2 separate regions of the Homo sapiens genome follow, and region 2 is linked to region 1. Evidence: promoter capture Hi-C in 16 types of primary human blood cells and fetal thymus (Javierre and others, 2016). All regions are on one chromosome and are shown on one strand. The core of a region is centred on a gene start or on the middle of the fragment in contact, and the rest is flanking DNA. Distances in the headings are between cores, read along the strand shown.

What was found. Contacts are between HindIII fragments. The CHiCAGO score rates a contact against its expected background, and 5 or more counts as called.
Region 2: a contact is called between a fragment that was not itself captured here and the fragment with the promoter of TAOK1 in region 1, in 2 of 17 cell types (M1 macrophages and M2 macrophages). The highest score is 5.4, in M1 macrophages.

The regions. Positions count from the first base shown.
Region 1 is chr17:29,388,915-29,396,249 of GRCh38, reverse strand. TAOK1 (TAO kinase 1) reads right to left here and starts at 5,887. Exons shown (of 20, transcript NM_020791.4): 1 at 5,226-5,887. It overlaps MIR4523 (microRNA 4523), which reads right to left and starts at 5,588; the gene lies at 5,520-5,588. RefSeq lists enhancers at 4,482-4,721, 5,882-5,971, 6,092-6,331 and a silencer at 5,372-5,841. The HindIII fragment of the contact is 16,274 bases long and covers 1-7,335 here.
Region 2 is chr17:29,469,298-29,476,374 of GRCh38, reverse strand. It overlaps TAOK1 (TAO kinase 1), which reads right to left. Exons shown (of 20, transcript NM_020791.4): 4 at 604-705. Among named protein-coding and RNA genes, the nearest start is that of MIR4523, 82 kb to the right of the region's middle. The HindIII fragment of the contact is 175 bases long and covers 1,964-2,138 here.

The DNA of each region.
Region 1 (7,335 bases), core at 4,638-7,137:
CAAATAGACTGATACAGAAATAACTGTTACCATATGATGACAGAAACGTCCCAGCTGAAAATAATTGCTGCTAGTCCCTCCACACAACTTTTTAATTCATGTAGATTTTTAGAAGGTATGAGACATCTTTAATGAAATTAAACATCAATTTTTATTACTAAAAACTAAAATACTTTAAGAATGGAATGAACTAATACAGGTTGTATCCTCTCATATTTTATAATAGGAAAACCTGAAGAATAATTTTTAAAATCCAACCATTAATAGTAAGTACGGAAATCGGGCCGGGTGCAGTGGCTCATGTCTGTAATCTCAGCACTTTGGGAGGCCAAGGCAGGTAGATAGCTGGAGCTGAGGAGTTCAAGACCAGCCTGGGCAACATGGCAAAACCCCATCTCTACAAAAAAAAAAAAAAAAAAAAAAAATTAGCCAGACGTGGTGGCATGTACCTGTAGTGCCAGCTACTTGGGAGGTTGATGTGGGAAGAGCACTTGAACCCGGGAGGCTGAGGCTGCAATACGCTGTGATCACGCTATTGCATTCCAACCTGGGCGACACAGCAAAAACCCTGTCTCAAATTCAAAAAAAAAAAAAAAAAAAAAAGTACACATACCTAAAGGCAGGTGAGCATATGTTGGTACTCTGCTTAATGAACATCTCAATTTTATGCGAAACTTTACTAGAGAAATAAAACTTTTTTATTTGTTTCGTTTTGTTTTGAGATGGAGTCTTGTTCTGCCGCCCAGGCTGTCAGGCAGTGGCGCCATCTCAACTCACTGTAACCTCCACCTCCTGGGTTCAAGTGATTCTCCTGCCTCAGCCTCCCCAGTAGCTGGGGTTACAGGCACCCACCACCATGCCTAGCTAATTTGTTTTATTTTTGTAGAGACAGGGTCTCTCTTTGTTGGCCAGGCTGGTTTCGAACTCTTGACCTCAGGTGATCCGCCCACCTTGGCCTCCCAAAGTGCTGGAATTACAGGCTTGAGCCACCACACAGGCTTTTGTTTTTAGACAGTCTCACTCTGTCACCCAGGCTAGAGTGCGGTGGCATGATCACAACTCACTGCAGCCTCCATCTTCTGGGCTCAAGCAATCCTCCCACCTCAGCCTGCCAGGTAGTTAGAACAAGCACGCACCATCACGCCCCACTAATATTTTCATTTTTTATCTTTTGGAGACAGGGTCTCACTATGTTGCCCAGGCTGGCCTCAAACTCCTAGGCTCAAGTGATCCTCCAGCCTCAGCCCCCAGCATGCTGGGATTATAGGCATAAACCACCATGCCTAGCCCATGCTAATTAAAAAAAAAATTTGTTTTTGTAGAGACAGGGTCATGCTATGTTGCCCAGGCTGCTCTTGAACTCCTGGCCTCAAGCAATCCTCCCACCTCAGCCTCCCAAAGCGCTGGCATTACAGGCCTGAGCCACTTTGCCCAGCCCAGAAATAACACTTTTTTGAAGGGATTCGTTCACATATGATCCTCATCCAAACAGCAACCCTCAACTAATATGTACCAAAAATGCTCCTCATTTCTAAAAGATTAAATTAGTATGAGTGCAATTAATTGTTATAAGTAACAGAGACTAGTGAAAACAAAACAGAGATACAAATGAAAAATTAAGTGATTTTAATATACAAATAAGCCAAATGCAAAACACAGACTTTATTTCCAGGTGAAAGACACGAAAGACAGATTGATCTCAACTCTAATTTCAATGCCAACAACTGACCCCTAGATATCTTCTGGATTTACTAAATATTCATGTCTATTAAGAACTGGCAAATTTGCCGGGCACGGTGGCTCAAGCCTGTAATCCCAGCACTCTGGGAGGCTGAGGCGGGCAGATCACAAGGTCAGGAGATCGAGACCATCCTGGCTAACACAGTGAAACCCCGTCTCTACTAAAAATACAAAAAATTAGCTGGGCTTGGTGGCAGGCGCCTGTAGTCCCAGCTACTCAGGAGGCTGAGGCAGGAGACTGGCGTAAACCCAGGAGGTGGAACTTGCAGTGAGCCGAGATCGTGCCACTGCACTCCAGCCTGGGCGACAGAGCAAGACTCCGTCTCAAAAAAAAAAAAAAAAAAAAAAAAAAAAAAAAACTGGCAAATTATTAAAATAAATCATACTCATGGTTAGTTATGAGCATCCAGTCTTTCTAGTATCCTGTAACTAAAGAGTTGCTTTCTTACTGTTAAAATGGCATCGTAACATGGGCCCAAATATCATGTATACACCTTGTTATACAGAAAGTTTATTTTATATCAACACCCATTCAATTACTTGCCATATCCTCACTTCTCCCAAAATCGACATTATAAAAAATACGATAATTATTTTCTATTCAGTGCCCTCATACTTCTGATTCTGTACATTGCTGTACTTCTTTAAAACCTCTCAGAGTTTAAATTTGTTTGCAATACTATCCTTTAGTTTGGAAGCAATGTTTTGTTACTGTCAAGATAATCTTAAACTATTAAAAGCCTTTAAATCCAGCTGATTCTCAGAAATTCTTCCACCTATAAAACATGAGAATTATAACCAAATTAACAAATCAGATATCAGAATGCCAAAAATTAAGTCATTAAAAGAGAATCCAGTGAAAGAGCCAGTTGTGAAAGAACAGGAAGTGATGTACACTGCCATTTTGTAGATGAACTATTTAGAAACATAAGAAGTGCCATACTAATCTAGAATCAACTCAGACTAACAGCTCTCAGCATTTTCTTTCTGACAGTGGCATCAGAGGTCATCTGAAATAACCCTCAGGCAATTTTTCCTTAATAATGTATTTATCTAATTGATCATGAACATACTTTTCCACTTTTAGGCAACATTCCTACCAGCTATGAAAAAAGAGAGTTGTTTTTTTTTCAGTTGTCCTTAGTTATAGCATGCTGAAATATAGCAAGTAAATAGTTAACCTACACCCTATGTAAATCCTTTAAGTTTTGTAGCCTCTATTGATAAATCCTCTCTGCCTACAACTTCCCAAGGTAAAAGCAGTCACTCCTTACTGAGCAGTATGCTTCGATCAACACATGCTAGTATATATGAAATAATTATCAACAACAAGCCATAATACGGAGAATCAGACTTCCTGGCATAATTTGCCATAATGGAGAAAACTCTACATATCAACAACATGCAGCTTTGTCCCATGAAATAAATACTCAAATGAATAGTGTTATTTCAATGAATTGAGATGACCATTAAAAGGGAATAAAGAAAAGAGAATTCCATCTTCTGAGAAAAAAAAATAAAACTTATTTAACATACCATGTCTCCTACATCAAAATCATGATATAAAATGACAGAAACTAAGTTAGTGCCTAGCGCTACTACTAACACCTTTAAATCCCTATCTTAAAACAGGTTTCAAAATGCAACAAACACACCAAAAAAGCTCTATTGGACAACATTTAATGACAACATAAAATGTAGATGGCATTTGAAGTATTTAAAAATAAGTCACTAAGTAGAGCTGAAAACACTAAATACACCAAAGACAACTCATTATCTGTACACATTTTAGTCTTCTTCTTCACTTTGGGAAAAAATTAATTCTATTAATAGTCATATGTGGAATATTTTGAAATCACATCACCAGTATTTACTAAACACTTGAAAAAAATGTATCATCAGTACATGGAGACTTGAAAACTACTCTTTGGTCACAAAAAGCACTTGGCAGCACATTTCCAGAATGTTTAAATTTTTATTTCTACTCAACTAAGAACAAAACCAACAAGTACTACTGTAAACCAGATAAGATGATCTGCTTTCAGACAAACATGACAGGTAGCAAAAGAAGTGAAAAATGACTGACTACAGAAAATAGATCATAGAATAATTAGGCAGATTAATAAGAACAAAGAAACAGCTGCAGAAAGGTTTGTAACCTTACCATTTTAAAAAAAATCCAATTTCAATATTATACACAACAGTATCAACCCTAAAAATTCACAGCTTAGGGAGAAATGCCCTGAATCAGACAGGCTGTCTGTATGTAATAATTGTTAATAATTTTTTTTTTTGAAACGGAGTCTCGCTCTGTCGCCCAGGTTGGAGTGCAGTGGCACCATCTCGCCTCACTGCAACCTCCGCCTCCCGGGTTCAAGCGATTCTCCTCCCTCAGCCTCCCGAGTAGCTGGGACTACAGGCGCGTGCCACCATGCCCAGCTAATTTTTTGTATTTTTAGCAGAGACGGGGTTTCACCGTGTTAGCCAGGATGGTCTCGATCTCCTGACTTCGTGATCCGCCCGCCTTGGCCTCCCAAAGTGCTGGGATTACAGGCGTGAGCCACCGCGCCAGGCCAATAATTCTTCATGAACTACAAAAGTCATAGAAAAAGAAAAGGGAAATGAGGATGAGGAGGTACAAAATTATTTTATTTGAATTCTAACTAAAATCCAACCTGCTCACAAAAAATGTCAATCCAGACATCTCTCAAAAAGAGAGACATCAAAACTGTTCTAACAGGAGAGGTGTCCCTCTCGAGAGGCCATATCCCCCAACAATAACACCAGAACAGATACACTTCCCATGGACAGATCTCAGGGGAAGAGTATTAAAACGATACTGTCGTCGATTTAAAACCAAAGGAAAAAGAGTAACCTTTTCAAGGGAAGCGCCATTACTTCCCTCTCCTGCTCCCCCTCCCTTCTGTGTATACATGGGTCTGTGTATGAAGAAACTGCCTTGGACTTCTGCAGCATTGCAGTAGACTAGAGGATGGGGAAGGGGGAAGGGTACGGGGAGAGAAACGCTTCCATCGCCCCTACAGAAGAGGGGTATAGATTTCCTGTGCTAGGGGGTGGAATCCACCCAGCAAGCCACCCAGAGCAGTCTCCCTTCCCAAGAATACACAGACACTACAAAGGAGAAGAGGAGCAAAGGCACCAGAGGGGAAGGGGACCTCGCGCCTTTAAACCGGGGTGCACATCAACCCAGTCTCCCTGTGAGGGCCACACCTTCCTCGAAACATCCCCCTTCCACCACCCCTTCCGGTGACCCTCAGGAAAAAGGAATGGAATTGCTCTCGCCCCTTAAAACCGGAGGGCGCCCAGCTCACCAGCTTCTTCACCCCACCCACAGAATCACAGACCCTCCTTTTCTCCCTCCCCCACCCCACTCCCACATCCCTTCTTCCACACACAGGCCCGAGTGGGCCGAATTTCCCCGCCCCCCTCTATATCCCCCTTTCCCAAAGCAGAGGTGCCCTTACCCTTTCGCCGACAGGTCTGGGGCGGAGCAGGCAGGCGCAGCCCCCTGCAGCGCTCCGGTAGCCGCTACCCTGGAGGGTGAGGAGTGAGGAGGAGGAGGGGGCCCGGCGACAGATCGCCGCCCCCCACCCCCGAGCCCCAGCAAGCCGCCCAGCCCAAGCTCTGCAACAAGGGGCGGCGGCGGCGGGGGGTGGGGGGGGGGGCGAGGGGACGACCGGGGTCGAGGAGGCGCCCTCAGCGCTTGGGCTCAGTTAAGATGGCGCGGGGAAGTGCCGGGAGCCGTCTCCGTCGCCGCCTCGGGGGAACCGGCCCGGGCCTCGGCCGCCTCTAGTCCTCACACAGCCGAGGCCCTCTCGGTCCCCCGCCGCGGCCCCTCGGCGGGCGGGCCCACGCGCAGCCCTCCGCCACCAACACCACCCCTGGTAAGGAGGCGCTCACAAAGGGAAGAGAGGCCGCGGGCCGGCCGGCGGACGGCGGGGCGGGGTCCCCCGGGGCCGGGAGGCCTCAGATGTTCGCGAGTGCCTAGTGCTTTCGGCCCGCGAAGGGCGCAGGGCGAGCGGGACCCCTCCTCTCTCCTCAGGCAGGCGGCGGCACCGACTCAGTCTCTTTGCCACCCTCCCTCTCTCTCCCCGAGCCCTGAAGCCACAGAGCCCGGCCGCTGCCCAGCTTCCCCCCCTTTACCCGACACCACTCCCCTCCTCCAGACCGTCATCCCCCGTCTCCGATCTCGCGAGATTTTCCGCCTGACAGGCCGGACCCTGCGCGAGACACGACTACATGCGCGCGCGCGCGCCCTCACAGGAGCGCGCAAGGCTTGCTACGGGCAGAGTTGTCCCGGTGGCCCGGAGTTCCAGCCTCTGTCCAGCATGGCCTCACTGAGTTCGCGGAGCTTCTAATGCCACGCGGGCGTCAGGTGCATTCATTTCACCCCGGAGATCTGAAGAAGAAGAGTTTATCTGCATTCCCCTTCCTTCCTGCTTCCCACCTCCAAAGCCCGCCACTGATCCTGCGAATAAGTTTGCCCTGAAGTGTGGAATATCCCATTCCTGCACAACTCGGTTCTACACCCCCTCCCCCGTGGGATTCAGAGGTACACTGGGCAGCGCAATCAGTATGCAGTTGAGTTTTTGAGATTCTAATAGTTGATACTAATTCTTGGAACGACAGTAAGACTTGGAAATACAGATCTAAGCCACCCTATATATTGGTGATGTAGAAAAGAGATAACTTCTTGAAAAGTGTCTGTGGGTTTAGTAGGTTGAGTAATGAGAAGTTTTGGAACAAGAGCAGCAAACAAACTAAAGACTCCTATGCAAAGAAGAAGTAGAGTTTTTATTCTTTTATCTCAAAACTTTTTTTTTTTTTTTTAGGGAAAACTCCCTCAGTACTTATTCAAGAACCTAAAAGTGTAAGGCCGGGCGCGGTGGCTCACGCCTGTAATCCCAGCACTTTGGGAGGCCGAGGCGGGCGGATCACGAGGTCAGGAGATCGAGAGCATCCTGGCTAACACGGTGAAACCCCGTCTCTATTAAAAGATAGAAAAAAATTAGCCGGGCGTGGTGGTGGGCGCCTGTAGTCCCAGCTAGCTACTCGGGAGGCTGAGGCAGGAGAATGGCGTGAACCCGGGAGGCGGAGGTTGCAGTGAGCCGAGATTGCGCCACTGCACTCCAGCCTGGGCGACAGAATGAGACTCGTCTCAAAAAAAAAAAAAAAAAAGAGAGAACCTAAAAGTGTACACAAAGTGTAGTCATAAAAAATCTTGGTTCTTTAACCAACAAAACGACTGAAATAAATAAACCTGTTATATGAGTTTCATGAATAAAAATTAACTCTGGGCCGGGCCCGGTGGCTCACGCCTGTAATTATAGCACTTTGGGAGGCTGAGACGGGCGGATCACCTGAGGTCAGGAGTTCGAGACCAGGCTGGCCATAGTAGATCTGTGCTCCAAGGAAGGAGCATGTTGATCAGACCTAAGCAATCCGTGTATACAGTGTATGTATGACCTTCCTCTAGTCTGGCTCAGGGATGGGCACATGATCCAATTAGAGCCAATGGGTACAATAAGATTTTCTCTGGCTTTTTGGGAAAGAAACTTTCTTATTTTCTCCCAA
Region 2 (7,077 bases), core at 802-3,301, 84 kb before region 1:
ACAAACTGGATAAAAATGCACCAAACACTACAAATCTAAATCTACAGTACGTATACTAAAATGATACTTAGCTGTGACTTATTAATTATTCAAAATAAGGGGCCATTCCTGGTAACAAAAGGGCAAAATAAATTTCTACTTCTTATAATAAAGTGCAACAATTCTCTATCTTTAGTGTTATTCGACCAAGGAATCGTGATCAGCTCAAATTTCACCAGGATTCACCCAAATTTCATCATGATCTTTCTGGTTAAATGCATTACAGTACATTTATGTCAAGAAAACATATGCTAACTTTCAACCTCAAGTAACATGATTGTTTTCACAATGTTTGAATGGTACTACTAAAACTGTCATAGGACATTTTATCATACATACAAAGGTCAACAGAATTCTGAAAAATCTCTGCAGTGAGACTTGCAAAAGTTCTATTATCTCTTACTGCCTACAAGTTCTAGGAAATATTGCTTGTTTTCTTTCAGTACGAACTAACATTTCAGGTGTTTTTGCATGCATTTACACAACCAGTATGAGATATTCTGAATTAATTCATTATAAACCAAAATCAGCTAAAACTGCAACAAGGGGAGAACAAATACCAACCCATGCTGTGTGTTCACGTAAATAACAGCCTTTGTATTCTATACTGTTGGGATGTTTTATTCTTTGTAGAAACTTGACTTCCTTAATAATATCCTGCCATTTCTGTGGGGAGAAAAAAGGTAAAGAATTATGAACAGGACTTTTCCTCAGAAAGTTATATAAGAATAAAAGTAATTACTAAATTTAGAAGAGTTAACAAGAACATGCAACTTTGCTTGGTTTTACTTATTTATTGGGAGGGTCTTGCTCTTTCACCCAGGCTGGAGTGCAGTGGCACAATCTCAGCTAACTGCAACCTCCATCTTGTGGGCTCAAGTGATCCTCCCACCTCAGCCTCCCAAGTATTTGGGTCTACAGGCGCACACCACCATGCTCATCTAATTTTTCTATTTTTTGTACAGATGGGGTTTCACTGCATTGCTCAGACTGGTCTCAAACTCCTGACCTCAAGTGATTCACTTGTCTTGGCCTCCCAAAATATGGTCATTTTTAGATAAAATGTCAAAATTAAAAAGTTTAAATAAATTATATTCAGCCAGGTACAGTGGCTCACGCCTGTAATCCCAGCACTTTGGGAGGCTGAAGCAGGTGGATCACAAGGTCAGGAGATTGAGACCATCCTGGCCAACATGGTGAAACCGTGTCTCTACTAAAAATACAAAAATTAGCTGGGCGTGGTGGTGTGCACCTATAGTCCCAGGTACTCGGGAGGCTGAGGCAGGAGAATAGCTTGAACACGGGAGGTGGAGGTTGCAGTGAGCCGAGATCGAGCCACACTGCACTCCAGCCTGGTGACAGAGCGAAACTCGGTCTCAAAAATAAAACAAATAAATAAATAAATAACATTCATATACAGGCATATCTCAATTTACAGCACTTTGCTTTATTGTACTTCACAGATGTTACTTTTTTTTTTTTAAAACAAATTGAAGGTTTGTAGCAATCCTGTGTCAAAGCAAGTCTACCAGCACCATTTTTCCAATAGCATGGGCTCACTTGATGTCTTTGTGTCACCTTTTGGTAACTCTCACAATATTTGAAACTTTTTCATCATTATTATTATATCTGTTATGGTGATCTGTGATCAGTAATTGTTTACATTACTATTGTAATTGTTTTGGGGAGCCATGAACTGTGCCCATATAAGATGGTGAATTTAATCAATAAACATGTATTCTCACAGTTCCACCAGCCAGCCATTCCCCAGTCTGTCTCCCTTTCCTTGGGCCTCCCTATTCTCTGAGACACAATAATGTTGAAATTAGGCCATCAATAACCCCACAGTGACCCCTAAGTGTTCAAGTGAACGGAATACTCACACATCTGTCACTTCAATTCAAAACTTACAAGTGATTAAGCTTAGTGAGAAAGGCATGTCAAAAGCTGAGACAGGCTTTGAAGCTAGGCCTTTTGCACCAAATAGCCAAGTTGTAAATGCAAAGAAAAAGTTATTGAAGAAAATTTAAAGTGCTACTCCAGTGAATATATGAATGATAAGAAGGTAAAACAAGTTTATTGTTGATGTGAAGAAAGCTTTAATGGTCTGGATAGAAAATCAAATCAGCGACAACATTCCCGTAAAACAAAGTCTAATCTAGAGGATGGCCCTAACTCTCTTTAACTCTACAAAGGCTGAGAGAGGTGAGAAAGCTGAAGAAGAAAAGTTGGAAGCTAGTAGAGGTTGCTTCATCAGGTTTAAGGAAAGAAATTATCTCCGTAAAATAAAAATGCAAGGTAGGCCGGCACGGTAGCTCACTCCTATAATCAATCCCAGCATTTTGGGAGACCAAGGCGGACAGATCACTTGAGGTCAGGAGTTCAAGACCAGCCTGGCCAACAAGGTGAAACCCCATCTCCACTAAACACACAAAAATTAGCCAGGTGTGGTGATGCGTGCCTGTAGTCCTAGCTACTAGGGAGGAAACGCAGAGGAAGGAGAATCGTTTGAACCCAGGAGGCGGAGGCTGCAGTGAGCCAAGATAGTGCCACTGCACTCTAGCCTGGGCAACAGAGAGAGACTCTGTCTCAAAAAAAAAAGAAAAAGAAAGAAAGAAAAGTGCAAGGTGAAGCAGCAAGTACTGATGTAGAGGCTACATGCAAGTTATCCAGAAGATCTAGCCAATGTGTCATTGATGAAGGTGGCTACATTACGCAACAGATTTTTTTTTTTTTTTTTTGAGAGTTTCACTCTGCCATCCACACTGGAGTGCAGTGGCATGATCTTGGCTCACTACAACTTCTGCCTCCTGGGTTCAAGCATTCCTCCTGCCACCACATCTGGGTAATTTTTCTATTTTCAGCAGAGACGGGGTTTCACCATGTTGGCCAAGCTGGTCTCGAACTCCTGGCCTCAAGTGATCCACCTACCTTGGCCTCCCAAAGTGCTGAGATTACAGGTGTGAGCCACCATGCCCAGTCAACAGATCTTCAGTGTAGATGAAATAGCCTTATATTGGAAGAAGATACCATCTAGGACTTTCATGGCTACAGAGCAACTATGAAATGCCTGGTTTCAAAGCTTCAAAGGACAGGCTGACTCTCTTGTTAGGGGCTAATGCAGCTTGTGATTTTAAGTTGAAGTCAATGCACATTTACCATTCCAAAACTCCTACTCTGCCTGTGCTTGTTCAATGAAACAACAAAGCCTGGATGACAGTACATCCATTTAAGCATGGTTTAGTGAATATTTTAAGGCCACGGTTGAGATTTACTGCTCAGAAAGATTCCTTTCAAAATATTACTGGTCTTTGCCCGTGTACCTAGCCACCCAAGAACTCTGATAGAGATATAAAAGGAGATTTATGTTGTTTTTATTCCTGCTAATACACCATCCATTCTGCAGCCCATGGATCAAGGAATAATTTTGAGTTCCAAGCCTTATTATTTAAGAAAGGCCAGCAGGGCACAGTGGCTCACGCCTGTAATCCCAGCACTTTGGGAGGCCGAGGCGGGCGGATCACCTGAGGTCGGGAGTTCAGGACTAGCCTGACCGACATGGAGAAACCCTGTCTCTACTAAAAAAATACAAAATGAGCCGGGCGTGGTGGTGCATGACTGTAATCCCAGCTACTTGGGAGGCTGAGGCAGGAGAATCACTTGAACCCAGCGGGGCGGAGGTTGCGGTGAGCCGAGATAGTGCCATTGCACCCCAGCCTGGGCAACAAGAGCGAAACTCCATCTCAAAAAAAAAAAAAAAAAGAAAGAAAGAAAGGCTATAGCAGCTGGGCATGGTGGTTCACGCCTGTAATCCCAACACTTTGGGAGGCCGAGGCAGGTGGATCACCTGAGGTCAGGAGTTCGAGACCAGCCTGGCCAACATGGCAAAACCCTGTCTCTACTAATAATACAAAAATCAGCCAGGCATGGGGATGCAGGCCTATAATCTCAGTTACTCGAGAGGCTGAGGCAGGAGAATCGCTTGAACCCGGGAGGCAGAGGTTGCAGTGAGCCGAGATCATGCCATTGCACTCCAGCCTGGGCGACAAGAATGAACTCCATCTCAAAAAAAAAAAAAACACACAACGGCTATAGCTGCCATAGACAGCAATTTGTCTGATGGATATGGGCAAAGTAAATTGAGAATCTTCTGGAAATAATTCATTCTAGATGCCATTAAGAACGTTTCCGACTCATGGGAGGGCAAATTAGCAACATTATCAGGAGTTTGCAATAAGTGGATTCCAACCCTCATGGATGACTTTGGGGGGTTCAATATTTCAGTGGAGGAAATAATTGCAGATGTGGTGGAAACAGCAGGAAAACTGGAATTACACATGGAGCCTGAAGATGTGACTACACTGCTGCAATTTCATGATAAAACTTGAGTGGATGAGAAACTATTTGTAATAGATGGGCAAAGAAAGTAATTTCTGAATATTACATAAACTTAGTTGATAAAGCAGTAACAGAGTTACAGAGGATGGACTCCAATTTTGAAAGTTTTATCATGGGTAAAATGCTGTCAAACATCATTGCATTCTACAGAGAAATCTTTTGTGAAAGAGAAAACTGATGGGCAAACTTCACTGTTGTCAGATTTTAAGAAATTGCCACAGCCACCTTAACCTTCAGCAACCACTACCCTGATCAGTCAGAAGCCATCAACATGGAAGCAAGATTCTCAACCAGCAAAAATAGTATGACATGCTGAAGGCTCAAATTATCATTAACTTTTTTTTAGAAATAAAATATTTTAAGCTGGGCGCGGTGGCTCACGCCTGTAATTCCAGCACTTTGGGAGGCCGAGGTGGGGGGATCACGAGGTCAAGAGATCGAGACCATCCTGGCCAAGATGATGAAACCCCGTCTCTACTAAAAATACAAAAAATTAGCCAGGCGTGGTAGCGGGCACCTGTAGTCCCAGCTACTCGGGAGGCAAGCAGGAGAATCACTTGAACCCGGGAGGCGAAGGTCGCAGTGAACCAAGATTGCGCCACTGCACTCCAGCCTGGCGACAGAGTGAGACTTCATCTCAAAAAAAAAAAAAAAAAAAAAAGAAAGAAAATATTTTAAAATTAAGGTACGTACACTGTCTTTTTTAGACAAAATGTTATTGCACACTTAATGGACTACGGTACTACAGTATAGCATGGACATATATATATATATATTTTTTAGATGAAGTCTTGTGTTGTTGTCCAGGCTGGAGTGCAGTGGCACAATCTTGACTCACTGCAGCCTTCGCCTCCTGGGTTCAAGTGATTCTTGTACCTCTTCCTCCTGGGTTCAAGTGATTATCCTGCCTCAGCCTCCCAAGTACCTTGGAATTACAGGCACCTGCAACCATGCCTGGCTAATTTTTGTATTTTTAGTAGAGACAGGGTTTTCCACCACATTGGCCAGGCTGGTCTCAAACTCCTGACCTCAAGTGATCCGCCTGCCTCGGCCTTCCAAAGTGCTGGGATTACAGGCGTAAGCCACTGTGCCAGGCCTAGACATAATTTTCATATGCACTGGGCACCAAAAAATTCATGTGACTTGCTTTATTATGATATTTGCTTTATTGTAGTGGTTGAGAACAAAACCCACAATATCTCCAAGTCATGCCTATAGTTTACAACTCAATTATATAATTTACAAAATTATTTCACTCAAGGTAGGTAAGACAAATTTGAGTTTGATAAAATTTATCATTAATGACTCATTAAAATTTTACAACCATACACCAATCATGTTGATAACTATATACCATATTCAGTGATTTTTCTTCAAAAGTCCAACCTTTCTTTTTTTTAATACAGTTTTATTGATATATAATTTATATACCATAAAGTTCACCTGTTGTGTTTTTGGCTCATTTCTATTACCAAATGTTAGGGTTTAACTCAAATGAAGTAATTCCTCTGAGATTTAAGTTCCTAAATGCAGACTCTAAAATGCTAGTGAATAATTAGCTATTATATATAAAAGTTCACAGAAAAAAACCAAGCAGTACAAAAATCTTTTCCTACATAGTTTACTAAGAGCCTTATTCACTAATACCTATACCTATCAGGAAATACAGTTAAACCTTTGGTCTTAAGCTACTTCATGACAACCTTAAATACTTAGGCCACATCCTAAACATAGTTACTCTTAAGAAGCAACCCAAGAACTCTAAAAATACAGATCCTTTGGTCCATACCCAGAAATTCCACAGATTTAGGAGGTGTGAGAGGAGGACTAGAAATCTGTTTTTGCTCTTTTTAATTATTTTAAGTTTTATCACTGATTTGGGCTATATTCTTAATGGCAAGGGAAGCAGTATAAATAGAATAAGAAATGTTGTATACTAGATTTAAGATCATATACCTCCTATGTTATTTCACAAGGCCTTAACAGAACACAGCAAAATATGTTCCGGTGTTTTGTGTAAAATGTGGAAGATACATTATAAAATGCTAAATCCAGAAAATCTGTTCTATGGTCTTTAAGTTTCAAATTTGAATAATCTGGAAGGCAGACTCAAAAAAATGTATTCCTTAACATAAAAAAATTTTCATGAAGGACGCCAACATTAGATATTAAAAGATGATGTGGTAAATGAAAATTTTTGTTCTAGGTGTGACTAATCAGACTCTGAAACAGACAGATATAGATACATATGTAGATATACATACACCCAATGGAATATTTTTCAGACTTAAAAAGGAAGGAAATTCTGACATAACTACAACATGGATGAACTTTGGGGATATTAGGTTACGTGATATAAGCTAGTCACAAACAGACAAATCCCAAATGATTCCACTTATATTAAGTACCTAGTCAAATTTATGGAGACAGAAAGTAGACTGGTGGTTGCAAGAGGCTGGGGAATTATTGCTTAATGACTACAGAGTTTTAATGTTGCAAGATAAAAAGAATTCTAGAGACGCATGGTGATAATGGTTGCACAACGTGAATGCACTTAATTCCACTGAAATGTGGAATTGAAAATAGTTAAAATGGCAAATTTTATGTTGTATTTTACCACAATTAAAAATAATTTTAAAA